Linked DNA regions of Homo sapiens: region 2 is linked to region 1. Evidence: promoter capture Hi-C in human tissues and cell types (Jung and others, 2019). All regions are on one chromosome and are shown on one strand. Each heading gives the region's core, a stretch centred on a gene start or on the middle of the fragment in contact. The rest is flanking DNA. Distances are from core to core; before and after follow the strand shown.

What was found. Contacts are between HindIII fragments. The study calls those that stand out against the background at their distance.
Region 2: a fragment that was not itself captured here is called in contact with the fragment with the promoter of IGFBP5 in region 1 in 1 of the 25 tissues and cell types used here (ovary).

Annotation. Positions count from the first base shown.
Region 1 is chr2:216,693,446-216,701,030 of GRCh38, reverse strand. It overlaps IGFBP5 (insulin like growth factor binding protein 5), which reads left to right and starts at 5,482. Exons shown (of 4, transcript NM_000599.4): 1 at 5,482-6,592. The coding sequence starts at 6,256. It overlaps IGFBP-AS1 (IGFBP5 antisense RNA 1), which reads right to left and starts at 6,585. Exons shown (of 6, transcript NR_187138.1): 1 at 6,270-6,585. RefSeq lists a silencer at 2,026-2,105. The HindIII fragment of the contact is 12,405 bases long and covers 3,753-7,585 here.
Region 2 is chr2:216,740,181-216,747,330 of GRCh38, reverse strand. The region is part of intron 2 of IGFBP-AS1 (IGFBP5 antisense RNA 1); the gene reads right to left. Among named protein-coding and RNA genes, the nearest start is that of IGFBP5, 48 kb to the right of the region's middle. The HindIII fragment of the contact is 3,967 bases long and covers 1,116-5,082 here.

The DNA of each region.
Region 1 (7,585 bases), core at 4,233-6,732:
GGTTTAGATTGACCCAGCTGGGAACACGGCCAGAGGCAGCTGCTTTAAATGTTTCAGGACTATCCCTTAGCCCCAGTAACGGATCAAATCACGTCACTGGACCCATGCTTTCCACACTAGTAGAAAAGCAGTGTTTCCTGCTAGTTTAGATATGAAGTTTAGCTCTTCCAACCAGGGCCATTGCATAGAGCTGTGCAGATTGTGTACGACACAGCAAGAACCCCGTTTAAGTGGTGCTATTCACAGAGCAGACACAGACAGGTACATTCATTATGACAATTTCCTGGAAGAGGCAGTAAAGTTTCCTGTCCTAACAGAATCTGTATTTTATAACAATATTCTGATGAATAGAAGTAAAGTATCTTGAGGAAGGTCATCTTTTCCTAATTTACACAAATTTACCCTCTGCACTAACAGTGGTAAGCTAGCTCTTACCACTTCTCCCTCCCAAACTGTGTGAAATCTCAGTTGCTAACCATGCACTGTGATTTTACTTGGCCTTTTCACGGTTCATATGAATCATATTAAACCTGCTTCAAGTAGTTAACACTCTCTCTCTCTCTCTCCTCTTTTTCCATGTGATTCCATTTTTTCTACCTACCCTATCTCTCTCCCACCTAGATCTGGTGCTACCAACACTGTCTCTAAGTCACAACAGATCACTTTTCCTGGTTAATCTCATTTTCCAAAATTGAAACAGCTTCTGAGCGGTCCATTGTAGGAACATGCCAGATCCCATGATCCAAGAAGACAGAAGGGCTCCAACCAGAAACAGTATTTATGGAGCCTGCCCTGCTCTGCCCTATCTGTCTGGAACTGCTCCAGAAGCCTCCTTAACATCAATTCGTGCAGCTATTAACTTATATGCGGCTCACATCGGGATATAAATCACTCTGCGTCACAGCTGGCTCCGGCTCCTTTAACAGCCAGCCTCAGGGTCAATTTAGACTCTAGTTAAATTGCCACCACTGCAAGCACCACTACAAAATTAACTCTAAAGTAGCACATGGTTTTACCCTCAAAAATCACTATAATTCTGTTCTATGAGAAACTACACATAAAACCTAGAAAAATATTGTGCAGAAAGGATACAGAGCTATTTCAGGACACTGACTACCTCTGTCCAGGGAAGAGGATGCGGGGATGGCATGCATGGGAGGTGAGCTGTTATCTGTCCCACTCTACTTCTCTTTTAACAAAATCTTCAGCTGGGCGCGGTGGCTCATGACTGTAATCCCAGCACTTTGGGGGGCCAAGGTGGGTGGATCACAAGGTCAGGATTTCAAGACCAGCCTGGCCAACATGGTGAAACCCTGTCTGTACTAAAAATACAAAAATTAGCCAAGCACAGTGGTGCGCACCTGTAGTCCCAACTACTAGGGATGTTGAGGCAGAAGAATCGCTTGAACCTGGGAGGTGGAGGTAGCAGTGAACCAAGACCGTGCCACTGCACTCCAGCCTGGGAGACAGAGCAAGACTCCATCTCAAAAATAAAAAAAAATAAAAATCTTCAACAACAACGGCAAAAAGTGAACATGTGTCAAATAAGTGTAGGGAGTGGAGGGCACATGCTCTATTATCTTCTGTTCTTTGAATGTTTGAAATGTGCCATAATTACCTTTTTTTAATTTAACAGGGGGAATTTTTATGAATTGTGGCTGAAGATCACTTCTGATTATTCCTCAGAGAAGGTTTAGGACACCCTTTGATGAACCCAAAGTCATCAAGTTCCTACCCTGGCCATACCTTTTCTCCAAAGAAAAGTAATCATGAACACAGCATCTGGTGGGACACAGAGGGTTTTGCACCTCAGGCTGGCCTGGTGCTATTGGGGCAACAGTGCAGTGCCGATGCTGGGGTGGCCTATAAGTGGACCCACAGGGTGTCCGTACCTGTCCTTCCATCCATGCTTTTTCTTCTCCCGTTGCCCCATCCCCATTGTTAAACACCTCTACCAGTATCTGCTTCTTTCCCTTCGTGAAAGGAGGCGTGTTTCTAATGATGTATCTATCCTGCCACCTAGCCTTCAGCAATATCACTACAACAAAGTTGCCTCATGCTGCTCTTTAACACAGACTTCAGTCTTGCTGAACCTCCCAGAGCTAGGGAAGGACCTGAACAAGGGGGCACTTTCTTTATTGAACATCACTGTACCTTAGTTTGGGACCAGGACAACATGGCCGCAGCATTAGTATTCTTGATGTGTGTTGGCCTCTGGGAGAGACTGAAGTCAATGTCATGAGGTCTTTAAAAATTGAATAAATTATATAAATAAGCCTGTCTGAGAGTGGTGAGAGTGACACAGAAAAGAGAATGAAGACAAGATCCTTAGCTAACATTTTTCCATTCTAACCAGTAGAATCCACAATACTTTGTGTCCTACTAAAAAGTCTAGCTTTCCCAAACTGTGTTATCAGGCATCATCCTTGAAAATCACTTAGAAACTCACAGGAAATGACCACAGGCAAGGCATCCGAAGCTTTATAAAATAAAAACACTATCTATCCTTTGAAAAGTTATCCAGATAAAAGATCATAAATCTTTCACTCCGCTGCATTTCTTGAAAGCTGGCTTTGATAAGCAGTTAATCTTTTAAAGGAAAGAGGAGGAGTGATCTCCGGGGAAACGGGACACAAGTGGTTGATATTTAAATACTACTTCCCCGAAAAAGATGCAGTTGACAGGTATAGAAGCTAGTCTATGCCAGAGTTGGGAAGCCCATGACAGCGAAAGCAAGCCGGCAGCACAGGGGGGTCTCTAGGAAGGGAACATTTGTATCTGGCAGGAATTAATGATCCCCTCCCAATTACCCTGGTTGATGCAAACTATTTTTTTTTTCTACAAGCAATTTTCTAAAGGTGATTGTGAACAGATCTAGACCTCCAGAATGGAGGGAAGGGGAAAATGGAATCAAGTAAGGCTCATAGGCATCCTCCATAATCCCGTATCCTGCAGTAACAACACCAACACCTTCCCACTCCATTGTCATATGTTAATTATGGACTCAGAAACAACACCCATCTGGCCAGTCCTCCATCTTTGGATGAAATTACTATAGACAATCCCAGGCTACTGAGAATTCTTCTTTCTCTCATGCCCTCTCGGGAAGCCTATCCCAGGGTCTCTTGGACAACAGCTCCAGTGTCTGAATCCCTTATAACCTAAGCCCATTTCTAAGTGGAGATAAAGAATGGCTGCTTAGCACACCAACACAGCACATGTATACATATGTAACAAACCTGCACATTGTGCACATGTACCCTAGAACTTAAAGTATTAAAAAAAAAAAAAAAGAATAGCTGCTTAACATTTACAGTCTTGCAGAGTAACCTCTCTCCATGGCCCCTGTACTGCTCTGCCCCAGGGTCCGGCTCCCACCACATTCTCCTCCCCCCTTCTCTCTACCCTTTTTATCTTTTCTGTGAATGATCCCCCCTCCTTTTACCTGTCTTCACATATTGTATTATCCAGCCATTGGAAGTCGGCTACACAAAAAGAGGTGTCACTAGAGGCCATCTCTCTCAGAATACAGGGTGACTGGAACGAGGCAACTCATGTTTCTTTGGAAGGAGTACCACAATTTCCCCCAATCATCTTAAAAGCTACCAGTGTGCCTGAGGCAGGCTGAGCTGCTAAGGGTGTGCAGAAAGAAATAGGAGCAGGGAAGAGAACATACTGCACACATTCTGCTGCCACTCTTGTAGTCTGAACTTGACACAAATGACAAAATAACACATGATTTCCCTCACTTCTAAAATATTTCCACCAAAGTTTTGAATATTGATTTGTTCCTACCTTACCAAGCCCTCAGACTGAGAAAAGAAGAAATTAAGATGAGCCTTGCTGCTATTTTTTGTTTTAATCATTACACACAATGCTCCTCCCTCTCCCAGCCACCACGTGGCTAAACCCCCTTTGGCAATACAGGCAAAGACATAACTTTAGACGTTAACCTTGTTTTAAAATGTGCCTTTCGGCAAATAGATAAGTGAGAAGAGAGATCAGGATCTGGGGGTGTTAACGGCATAAAGTGAGATGCTCCTGAACTGAACGAGCAAGAAAAAATATTTTCTTGAAAGCAGTCCTCCAGAAAGAATTCTTATCATAGATAAGGGTGCAGTCTAGTGGCAAACTTCATGAAATGCAGCCCCTTCTCCAAAGGAAAGTTAGAATACTTCTCAAGGGAGGAAGCACAATGTAAAAGGTGTAACAGCCCACACCAAGTCCACCCAGCAGGGGCAGTGACATTGGTCATTTCTCTCTGACTTGCCTGTGAGGCTCATGGCTCACTCAGGTCAATTTCAGAAAAAGCTAAAACCACCACCTTCCTATTTCAAGGCCTTAGTTTTCTTTCATTTTATTAAAGAGGTTCTAGTGGCATGATTCGGTTCCTGGTCAGGACCTCTTCCAAGCAGGTCCTGTGGCCCTGTCAGCTCATATTCCTGGGATGTGCCTATAAGCACCAACTAACCTGTCAACCTATCACAAGGTCTCCTCCAGCTACTCTGCCACCCACTCCCTCCAGGGATGTGGCCCTGCCCAATAGAAATACCTCTGCAAAGTGACAGAGAGGGAAGTGTCACTCCAATCCACCTTTCTTCCCTCTAAGAACCCCACACACAAGGACACTTTAGGCCACCATGCAAGGTTTTCAGACTTAGCATTTCCTCCAAAGTGTCCATCTCTGCAACTCACTGCTCTCAATAATGCTGTTGTATGAATGTCCATTCCTGCAGATACACAACACACACACATACACACACACACACAGAGAGAGAGAAAGAGAGAGAGAACCTCCCTGGCCAACGCAGCTGAAGGCAACTGGTCACCTCTTCATCATGAGTACTGAAACCCCCTGATTAAATCCTCTTCTCCAGACTTTTAGGGGAGAAATTCAATTTTTTCTTCTTTTTTAAATTTAGCTCACCAGACATCACTGGCCATTCTACACTACCTGTCCCCCAAACACACACACACACACACCCCACATGGAAACAGACACCAGCATACAGTCAATTGCAGAAGCTTAGGAAGATTTCTTGGGCACGGTATATCCAGTTGGCTAATAAGAAAATACGTCTCCCTTCAGCCTGTGCCTTGACTACTTAAAGGATAGGAGGGAAGGGGAGACGAAGTTACTCTCCTCATTGTGTTCACCCTGCTCCGAAGAACTCTGTCTTCCACTGGCCCCTCCACCTCCTCCCCATTCTCGGTAGCCCCAGCCTGTCCCCCTTGCCCCTTTCTTACATTCCGGGGGGAGGAGGGCGCTGTTCAGAGGGGAGGAGGGCGCTGTTCAGGGAGCGAAGGGGAGCCCCCTTGTGTCTAGAAGGCCTCTCCCCACCCCCACCCCGTGTGAGTTTGTACTGCAAAGCTCCTTGGCATCCTTGCCTGAGTTGGGTGTTGGGAAGCTCAAATTGCAGCTACAAACTGGCTGGCAGCCAGGGGCCGGCTATTTAAAAGCGCCTGCTCTCCCGGAGCCCCGTAGTCTCTTTGGAAACTTCTGCAGGGGAAAAGAGCTAGGAAAGAGCTGCAAAGCAGTGTGGGCTTTTTCCCTTTTTTGCTCCTTTTCATTACCCCTCCTCCGTTTTCACCCTTCTCCGGACTTCGCGTAGAACCTGCGAATTTCGAAGAGGAGGTGGCAAAGTGGGAGAAAAGAGGTGTTAGGGTTTGGGGTTTTTTTGTTTTTGTTTTTGTTTTTTAATTTCTTGATTTCAACATTTTCTCCCACCCTCTCGGCTGCAGCCAACGCCTCTTACCTGTTCTGCGGCGCCGCGCACCGCTGGCAGCTGAGGGTTAGAAAGCGGGGTGTATTTTAGATTTTAAGCAAAAATTTTAAAGATAAATCCATTTTTCTCTCCCACCCCCAACGCCATCTCCACTGCATCCGATCTCATTATTTCGGTGGTTGCTTGGGGGTGAACAATTTTGTGGCTTTTTTTCCCCTATAATTCTGACCCGCTCAGGCTTGAGGGTTTCTCCGGCCTCCGCTCACTGCGTGCACCTGGCGCTGCCCTGCTTCCCCCAACCTGTTGCAAGGCTTTAATTCTTGCAACTGGGACCTGCTCGCAGGCACCCCAGCCCTCCACCTCTCTCTACATTTTTGCAAGTGTCTGGGGGAGGGCACCTGCTCTACCTGCCAGAAATTTTAAAACAAAAACAAAAACAAAAAAATCTCCGGGGGCCCTCTTGGCCCCTTTATCCCTGCACTCTCGCTCTCCTGCCCCACCCCGAGGTAAAGGGGGCGACTAAGAGAAGATGGTGTTGCTCACCGCGGTCCTCCTGCTGCTGGCCGCCTATGCGGGGCCGGCCCAGAGCCTGGGCTCCTTCGTGCACTGCGAGCCCTGCGACGAGAAAGCCCTCTCCATGTGCCCCCCCAGCCCCCTGGGCTGCGAGCTGGTCAAGGAGCCGGGCTGCGGCTGCTGCATGACCTGCGCCCTGGCCGAGGGGCAGTCGTGCGGCGTCTACACCGAGCGCTGCGCCCAGGGGCTGCGCTGCCTCCCCCGGCAGGACGAGGAGAAGCCGCTGCACGCCCTGCTGCACGGCCGCGGGGTTTGCCTCAACGAAAAGAGCTACCGCGAGCAAGTCAAGATCGGTGAGCGCGCTCAGTGTGCCAGTCAGTTACGCGGCGCACGGGCGGGGGACACGAGACCGGCTGGGCCCGCGCGCTTTGCGCAGCAAGTGGCTTCGAGCTGGGGTGCAGCTCGGGAGTAGTCGGGGAGGGTCCTTGCACCCCGGAATTGGAGCCCTGGAGGATCCTGCTACCCGGGGGAACTGTCTAGCCGAGTCTATCCCAGCTTTCGCTCTTTCTCCTTCCTCCTACCCACACGTTGCCCGCCCCCTCCCCCTACTCTGTCCGAATACTGATTCTGAGCTCTTATTCGGTCACAAGGTCCAAATCCCCTGGTACCCTATCTACAGTCTGAAAGAGTGTATGTTACATTATCAACTCCCTCCTCCACCCCCCTCGCGCCCCGCATAGGTTTTTTTCTGAACTTGGAAAAAAAATCTCTTTTGTTAAAATATTATTTTAATTGCGGCCTGGAGAGAGAGGCATTACCTATCTTCTGAGCTAATTCCACCTTTGTCCCTCTTGGCCCCTCCACCCCCGTGCCTCCAGACGTTTCTATCCCTCCACCCCTACACACACACCACAAACACCCCACATCCTTGGTAGCTAATGCCTTTCGGGTGGGAGCCCTGAAGCCCCTCCCATGTGCATAACCATTGCTTTTTATTGAAGATGATTGCCTGTGGTAGATGGTAAAACATATTTAACTGCAAAATGACTTTTATTTTATCCCAGGAAGGGAAAAAAATACTTTAGGAGTGCGGGGGTGCGGGGTGGGGGTGGGGAAGAGTAGAAAGGAAGGGTTTGGTATTCTGTGCCTGGTGTTCGTTTCTGAATCTAATTCCTTTTCCCCCTCTCCAATTCAGATTTTACCTAGGATGAAAGGTGGACATAGGGCTGGGAGGCAAAAGGGGATGTGAGATTCAGAGCTTTCAACTTCCTCGCCTATGCAGATTCCTGGCACCACCACCACCTCCACCCCCGCCCCGCAATTCCTCCCTCCGCAATCCCCCCACC
Region 2 (7,150 bases), core at 1,850-4,349, 49 kb before region 1:
TGCTCGTTTAACATAATCCCAGACTTCTTGGAGGTTTTGTTTGTATTTTCTTATTCTTTTTCCTTTGTCTTTGTTGGATTGGGTTAATTTGAGACCTTATCTTTGAGCTCTGAATTTCTTTCTTCTACTTGTTCAACTGTATTGCTGAGACTTTCCAGAGCATTTCACATTTCTGAAAGTGTGTCCAAAGTTACCTGGATTTTTTGTTGTTTTTTCTTTAAGCTATATCTATTTCTTTGAATATTTCTCCCTTCACTTCTTCTATCATTTTTTGGATTTCCTTGCATTGGATTTCCTTGCATTGGGCTTTGCCTTTCTCTGGTCCCTCCCTGATTGGCTTAATGACTAACCTCCTAAATTCTTTTTCAGGTAAATCAAGGGTTTCTTATTGGTTTGGAACCATTGCTGGTGAACTAGTGTGATTTTGGGGGGGTGTTGACGAGCCTTGTTTTGTCATATTACCAGGGTTGGTTTTCTGGTTCCTTCACATTTAGGTAGGTCCTGTCAGAAGGAACATCTAGAGATAAAGGCTACTGTTCAGATTTTTTTGTCTCACAGCATGTTCCCTTTATGTAGTACTCTCCCCCTTTCCCTGTGGATGTGGCTTCCTGTGAGCCAAACTGCCGTGATTGTCTCTCTCCAGAGTCTAGCCACCCAGCAAATCTACCTGACTCTGGGCTGGTACTGGGGGTTGTCTGCACAGAGCCCTGTGATGTGAACCATCTATGGGTCTCTCAGCTGTGTAGATACCAGCACCTGTTCCAGTGGAGGTGGCAGGAGGGTGCAATAGACTCCGTGAGGGTCCTTAGCTTTGGTGGTTTAATGCTGTATTTTTGTGCTAGTTGGCCTCCTGCCAGGAGGTGGCGCTTTCCAGAAAGCATCAGCTGTAGTAGTGTGGAGAGGGAACAGCGGCAGATGGGGCCCTAGAACTCCCAATATTGTATGCGCTTTGTCTTCCACTACCAGGGTGGGTAGGGAAGGACCATCAGGTGGGGGCAGGGCCAGGCGTGTCTGAGCACAGACTCTCCTTGGGTAGGTCTTGCTGTGGCTGCTATGGGACATGGGGGTGAAATTCCCAGGTCACTGGAGTTGTGTACCTAGGAGGATTATGGCTGCCTCTGCTGAGTCATGCAGGTTGTCAGGGAAGTGGGGGAAAGCCAGCAGTCACAGGCCTCACCCAGCTCCCACGCAAACCAAAGGGCTGGTCTCACTCTCACCGTGCCCCCCACAATAGCCCTGAGTCTGTTTCCAGGCAGAGGGCGAGATTGGGCTTGAAAACTTGCCCGAGGCTTTCCACCTCCCAGAGTATTTGGGGTGTCTCCTGGGTCCTGTGGGAGCAGTCTGCTTCCTTCAGAGGGTCTGTGGGTCCTCTCAGGACTGCTGGTTTGTTCTTGCAGTCAATCTGAAGCTAAAATTCACAATACAAGCCTCCACGTGGTGCTCTGTCCAGAGCTGCAATCTAGTCCTGCCTCCCATCTACCATGATCCCAAAATCCTCGGAGGATTGATTGTTGAAGGTGTCCAACATGATTCACAGCAGAGAAGGAAAGACCAAAGTCACCATATTGAAGCTCATCCAAGGCTACTTCTAAATACACTATGGGAAGCACAATCTTTTCGGTTGCTTTATGATCCAAATGAAATAAGAGAAAAGCAATGAAAACTGAAGGAAAATTTTGCTGACTATAAAGATAATTGTACCCTAACATGGATTAGGAGTTCCTTAGATCTTTCTGTCCGGGGTGAATTGTGGTCAGTTCTTCCTAGATGCCAAGAGATGCACCAAATATGGTTCCTCTTACCAAAAGGGTTTAGTATTTGATAATTCTTAATGGATCACTTTCTTCAATTTCTGCTTTCCTCTATAAAGCAAATTGACACACATTCCCATTTTCTAGAACCACAGCAGCCTCCCAAGTTAAACATAAACAGCCTTCTTCTTCACTTTCTCCAGGCTGGGCATGCTCATTAGTGGCATTGAGGAGATCCTAAAAAATATTCCTTTACAATGAATTGGGGGTTCATAGTAAAATGGAACTTTTAACAAGTACTGGTAGATCCTGTGATCCTGTTTCTGATAGTACTTAGTGTCTACCTTCCTATTTTCTAAAAAGCAATGCCAGGATGGGTCTTTAATACAATCTCTAAAGCAGAAGTATGTTGGCTAAACAAGGAAAAGGTGGTTCTTAGATGGGCAGGTATTGCGTTATTGAGGGAATGACCTTTGGAGAAGTAAAGACCCTTGTGTGAGCAGAAGTCTATGTGGAGCAGAGAAGCTTCCAACCTGAGTGTGGAGAGTTAACACATCCTGCCACTCAACTCCCCTCCTCTGGTCCATGGGGCAGGGAAGAAGTCATTCAGACCAAGAGGGAGAGGAATCCACCCTTCCTCACTCTCTAGCTCCCATAGAGACATCAGCTGCACTCAGCTGAGTCTAAAAAGACTAAAGACCCAGCTCTATGGGGTCTTCAAGGAGCAACCCACCAATCACTTTGACACAGTCTTGTCATGGCCCACAGAAGTTAGGAAAGAATAAAGATGTGAGTGGACCAGAAAGGCAAAAGTTAGTGGTCATAATTGGAAGGAAAAGAGGTTCTCCTCTTTGAGGTCATTTGCCTGAAGTGCTGGGAGGAAAATGGAAAACTTTTTCATGGCAATTATATTTGAGGAATCAACCGATGCCATTACTAACTGGTGCCCTTCCTGTACCTTCTTTGGAGAGCCCTTCCTAGCTGCTTCAGCTTCCAGCATCTGAGTTCTCAGGCTCCCCACCCAACTGTCCATAGAGGAGTATCTTCCTAACTAGGAATGAACAGGTGATGGGGAAGGGGTGAAGAAGGATAGAATCATTATAACGAAGTCTCTGGACAAAATTAAAGTGGAAAACCAATGTCATCTCTAGCTCACAGGACAACTAAGGCCCCAATTTGGAAAGATACATGATTCCAAGTCCTAAGTGGAGATGAGATTACGAAGTGAGACATGGATGCTAGGGGGAGAAGGAGTTGATGATTCTTACAATTAATTCTTTAAAAGCTATAACATATCAACAATTGGAAAAGGGAGCTAAAATGTCATCTTGAAAACCCCATTTTGCAAGTGAAGACACCCAGGTTCAGTTCACCCAGATGGCCTGCCAGAAGTAACATGGCAAGTCAGGGCCAGAGCCAGAGCTGTGGCCACAGGATTCTGAATCCAGATCCAGGGTTCTTTGCATTGTTCCATGTTCATATTCACTCCACATGTAAGCCCCTGCTAAGCCTCACTGGGACATTCCCCTCTCCCACAAACATCCCGCCTTGAGTGTGGATTATTTCTCATCAAGGCTATGCTTGATGCTATTGTACAGCCTGAGGTCATGCAATAGGGAGAGAAGCATGCACAGGGCAGGGAGTCAACCACAGAGGACTCTAGGGAAAGTCTTAGAGGAAGGGTGAATGGCTGAGAAATAGAGAAGGAGCAAAGACCTCAAAACATTCAGAGTGGAAAAGTTGAAAAGCTTACAGTGTTACTGGAAGAAAAGCTAAGAAAGATTCTGCTTTAGGCAGAGCTATAAAATGTAAACATTTGTGTTCTGTGCCCCAACCCTCCTTTTCTTTGCCTTTTCCTCTCTCTAACATTGAGTTTCTCTTCTTCAGGAGCAAAGTTTTCTGCCAAGAAGAATCTAATGAGCACCTCTGAAAATTCTATCAGGCAGATTACATAGGATGTCAGAACTAGAAGGGACCAGGACATAACATTGCCAACCCAGCCTGGAAAAATTTTTTTAATCTAGACGCTCAATAATAGGGATCATCATCACCTTTTGTTGAAGGCCACGAATGTAAATCTAAACCTTTAATAGCCTGCCTGGCATATTGCAAGCCCTCAGCAAAAAGGAATGAAACTATGGAGTTTCTCCCAGACTCTGCATCCCACCTCAGGAGAGTGTGGCCTCAGTAGGTATTTGCAGGGCGTGATCAAATGCTATTGCTTGCATATGTCCTTTCAGGGTACTCTGCCACAGGTTTCACCCGGGGGCTCCCCTCTGGTCACCCCAGGTATTTGGAACCGTATTCCTTCCAAGAGGTCATTATCCCTTCTCTACTTGAACTCAGGAGAAGTGGAGATGAGACAACACCTCCCCCTCCTTTTCCTTGGCCATCACAAGACTCACACACCAAGTTGCAGTTATATGCAAATTTCCTTGTTGAAGAATTAGGAAAAACTGGCCAGACACCGTGGCTCACGCCTGTAATCCCAGCACTTTGGGAGGCCAAGACGGGCAGATTATCTGAGCTCAGGAGTTCGAGACCAGCCTGGCTAACATGGTGAAACTCCATTTTTACTAAAAATACAAAAAATTAGTCGGGAGAGGTGGTGCACGCCTGTAATCCCAGCTACTTGGGAGGCTGAGGCAGTAGAATCACTTGAATCTGGGAGGCAGAGATTGCAGTGAGCCAAGATCGCACCATTGCACTCCAGCTTGGGCAACAAGAGCAAAACTCCGTCTCAAAACACAAACAAACAAAAAAAAGAATTAGGGAAAACTGAAAAGAATGATCATTTAGTCTGGACAAACTTCTGGTGAACTGTGAATAAAAACTCTCTCTCTCAGCTCCCAAGGGAAGGCATCTAAGGCCTAGGCTTTCTCAAGGAACACATCATCTGTGCAGGGCTGCCATATTGCACAACTCAGGGAAGCGCCATTCACATAACAGTCTGTGTGAAGGCTCCCCTGGCCCTGTGTGGGGCTTGACCTACCCATAGCTATCAAGGCAGTCTTGCGTCACTCCTAAGTTGACCCACTTGCACTCAGATCATTCACACGCCCTGAAGTTCCTGCTTCTTTAAGTCTCTGGGTCCTAAATACCACTCTCCTTCAGGAATCCTCTTCTCCTTTCCACACAAAAAGGTCTGTGTTCCCTAAATCATTCCTATGTTTTACTGACTCATGTAGACCTATCCGTGCAGCTATGTTGAGCATTGGTGTGTTGGCCTCTCTCAGTCTCAAAAGTACCAGTAGAAGAATGGCCTCCAGTCCCATAAGCAAGAGTCAATGTGGATCCTCTCATTCTCCTATCAGTGGTAGCTGTCCCAAAGACAAATGTTAAATGGGAGCGGGAGTGAAAAGGGTGCAGCGTGTACCACAATGGGAAAAAGCTCTGGCCCCACCCTTATGGTCAATGGGTATCCATTACTGTATGACAAGCATTTGGTTTCCTTGGGGCTCTCTTTTATAGACAGTCATCCCCACCAAAGGGCTACTCTGGGGTTTACTTGTTAACTCCATCTAACCAAAAGACTTTGATAATAACCTGCATGATCCCCAGATAGCAGAGCTCCTCCAAGTACATGCGTCTCAAGAGGGGCCATATTGTTGGGAAATTGGATCTTGGGGGATAAAAAAAAAATCTTAGCTATCGTGATGATTCATAGTCTCTAAAAGGTCACACTATATTAACAGATATAGAGTATATAGGGGAGAAGGGGAAATGATAAGGGAATCAATGACTTAAAAGACTCCTTAGGGGAGTGATAATTTTAAAAAGTTGAGAAACACTGCTCTAATAGAGGAGGGAAACAGGGATAGAGGGAAGTTGTCATTTTTAGTGCTATCATAGTTAGTGTTATTATTGATTACCACCATCGTTATTATCATAATTAGAAACATTTCATACCCATGCCCTAAGTTAATCCTGCTGACCATCTGAAGGTGTAGATACTATTATTCTCATTTAAGATGTTGAAACTGAGTTTTAGAGGTATTGTCCAAGGTCACACAGCTAGTAGTTGGCAAAGACATGATTTCAACCCAATTCTGTCCGACTCCAAAGCTCATGGTCTCAGCCATCCTAGAATATTGACTGTAAAAGGGAGAGTAGCAACAGAACAGCACATCCCTAAATCCTACCATCTACTCTACCAATCTAAGTCTAGCTTTCAGACCATGGAAAGCAGTCGGGTTGTAAGAAAGGAGACAGTCATATCCTGGAAAAACTCTAGGTTGGGTTGAGCATGGGGTGGAAGGAAGATGATCCTGCTCTTTCCTGAGTGTGCCCCTTCTTCCTGCCCTAGGAAGCACCAGCCTTTGGGACCAGGAGCCTGGAACCCAGGGCAGAGAGAGAAATAAGAAGTCCCTGGTGTGTTTTCAGCTACTGCTGCCGAAACCCCAGCTGGGGCTGCAGCCAAGCCCAAGAGATGAGATGACCTCTATACAAACAAAACTTCCCCAGGCAGTGCTTCTGCAATTATAAACATGGACTCACCACGTGATGGGTTCAACCAGTTCACATAAACACCAAAGAGAGAAAAAAAAAAAATCCAAGGGAAAAAGTACGCTTTAAAGGGACTGAGCAGGGTATGTAGTTTTGTGACTCAAAGAGGGGAAGATCAGGAGCCAAAGGGCCCTGAGTCTAGTGGGCCTGATATCAAGTCACAGGGGCTCTTCCAAACCTGTACACAGGAAGCCTGCACCCCTTCCCAGTGTGGGAATCCTTTGTCAGGGGCAGCAGATCCATGTATGGTTGGCTTTTCCTCTGTATCTGAAGCACATTGTGCTGAACATCCATGAAAAACACAAAGGGTAGTCCTGAAGCAGGAGGGCCAGCTGTTAAATATCAGAAGGACTGCCCCACTGCCAGGTGCTTTCGCAAAGGAAGGGTACCGCAAGAGGTTCATTTAAGCTTGGGAACTATTTAAGCTGAACTATTTGGATGTGGGGAATGGATGGGGTGAACTCTGAAGAAACAGCACACCCTTCCTCTCTGCCCCTACGTCCCCCACCCTGTTGCCTGTGCTGGCAAAGAGGACGTTTTCCTCTGCAGCCCTGTGTTATCTGTGGGAATGCTAGCAGAGTCTCTGTTGTTTTTGCAAATAATCCACACCACTCCTGCGAGAAGGGCCAGCTCTGCAGAGCATTTGCAAAGACCATGCTCTCCTGGACCGGAAGAGCCTTGACAGCACCATGACCCAAAATAAAGTGGCCTAGAAGAAGGTTAGCCACTGGACCTGGTGGGCTGTGGGGATGGGATGCTCGGTGCTGCTGTTATGGTCTCCCCAGTGTTTCCAGAAGAAACCACAGAGCTCTGAGAAGCCACAGCAGCCAGGGCAGTCAGACGTCTCCAATTCTGAACTGAAACAAGAGGACTGTGGATGCTGCTTGCAACCC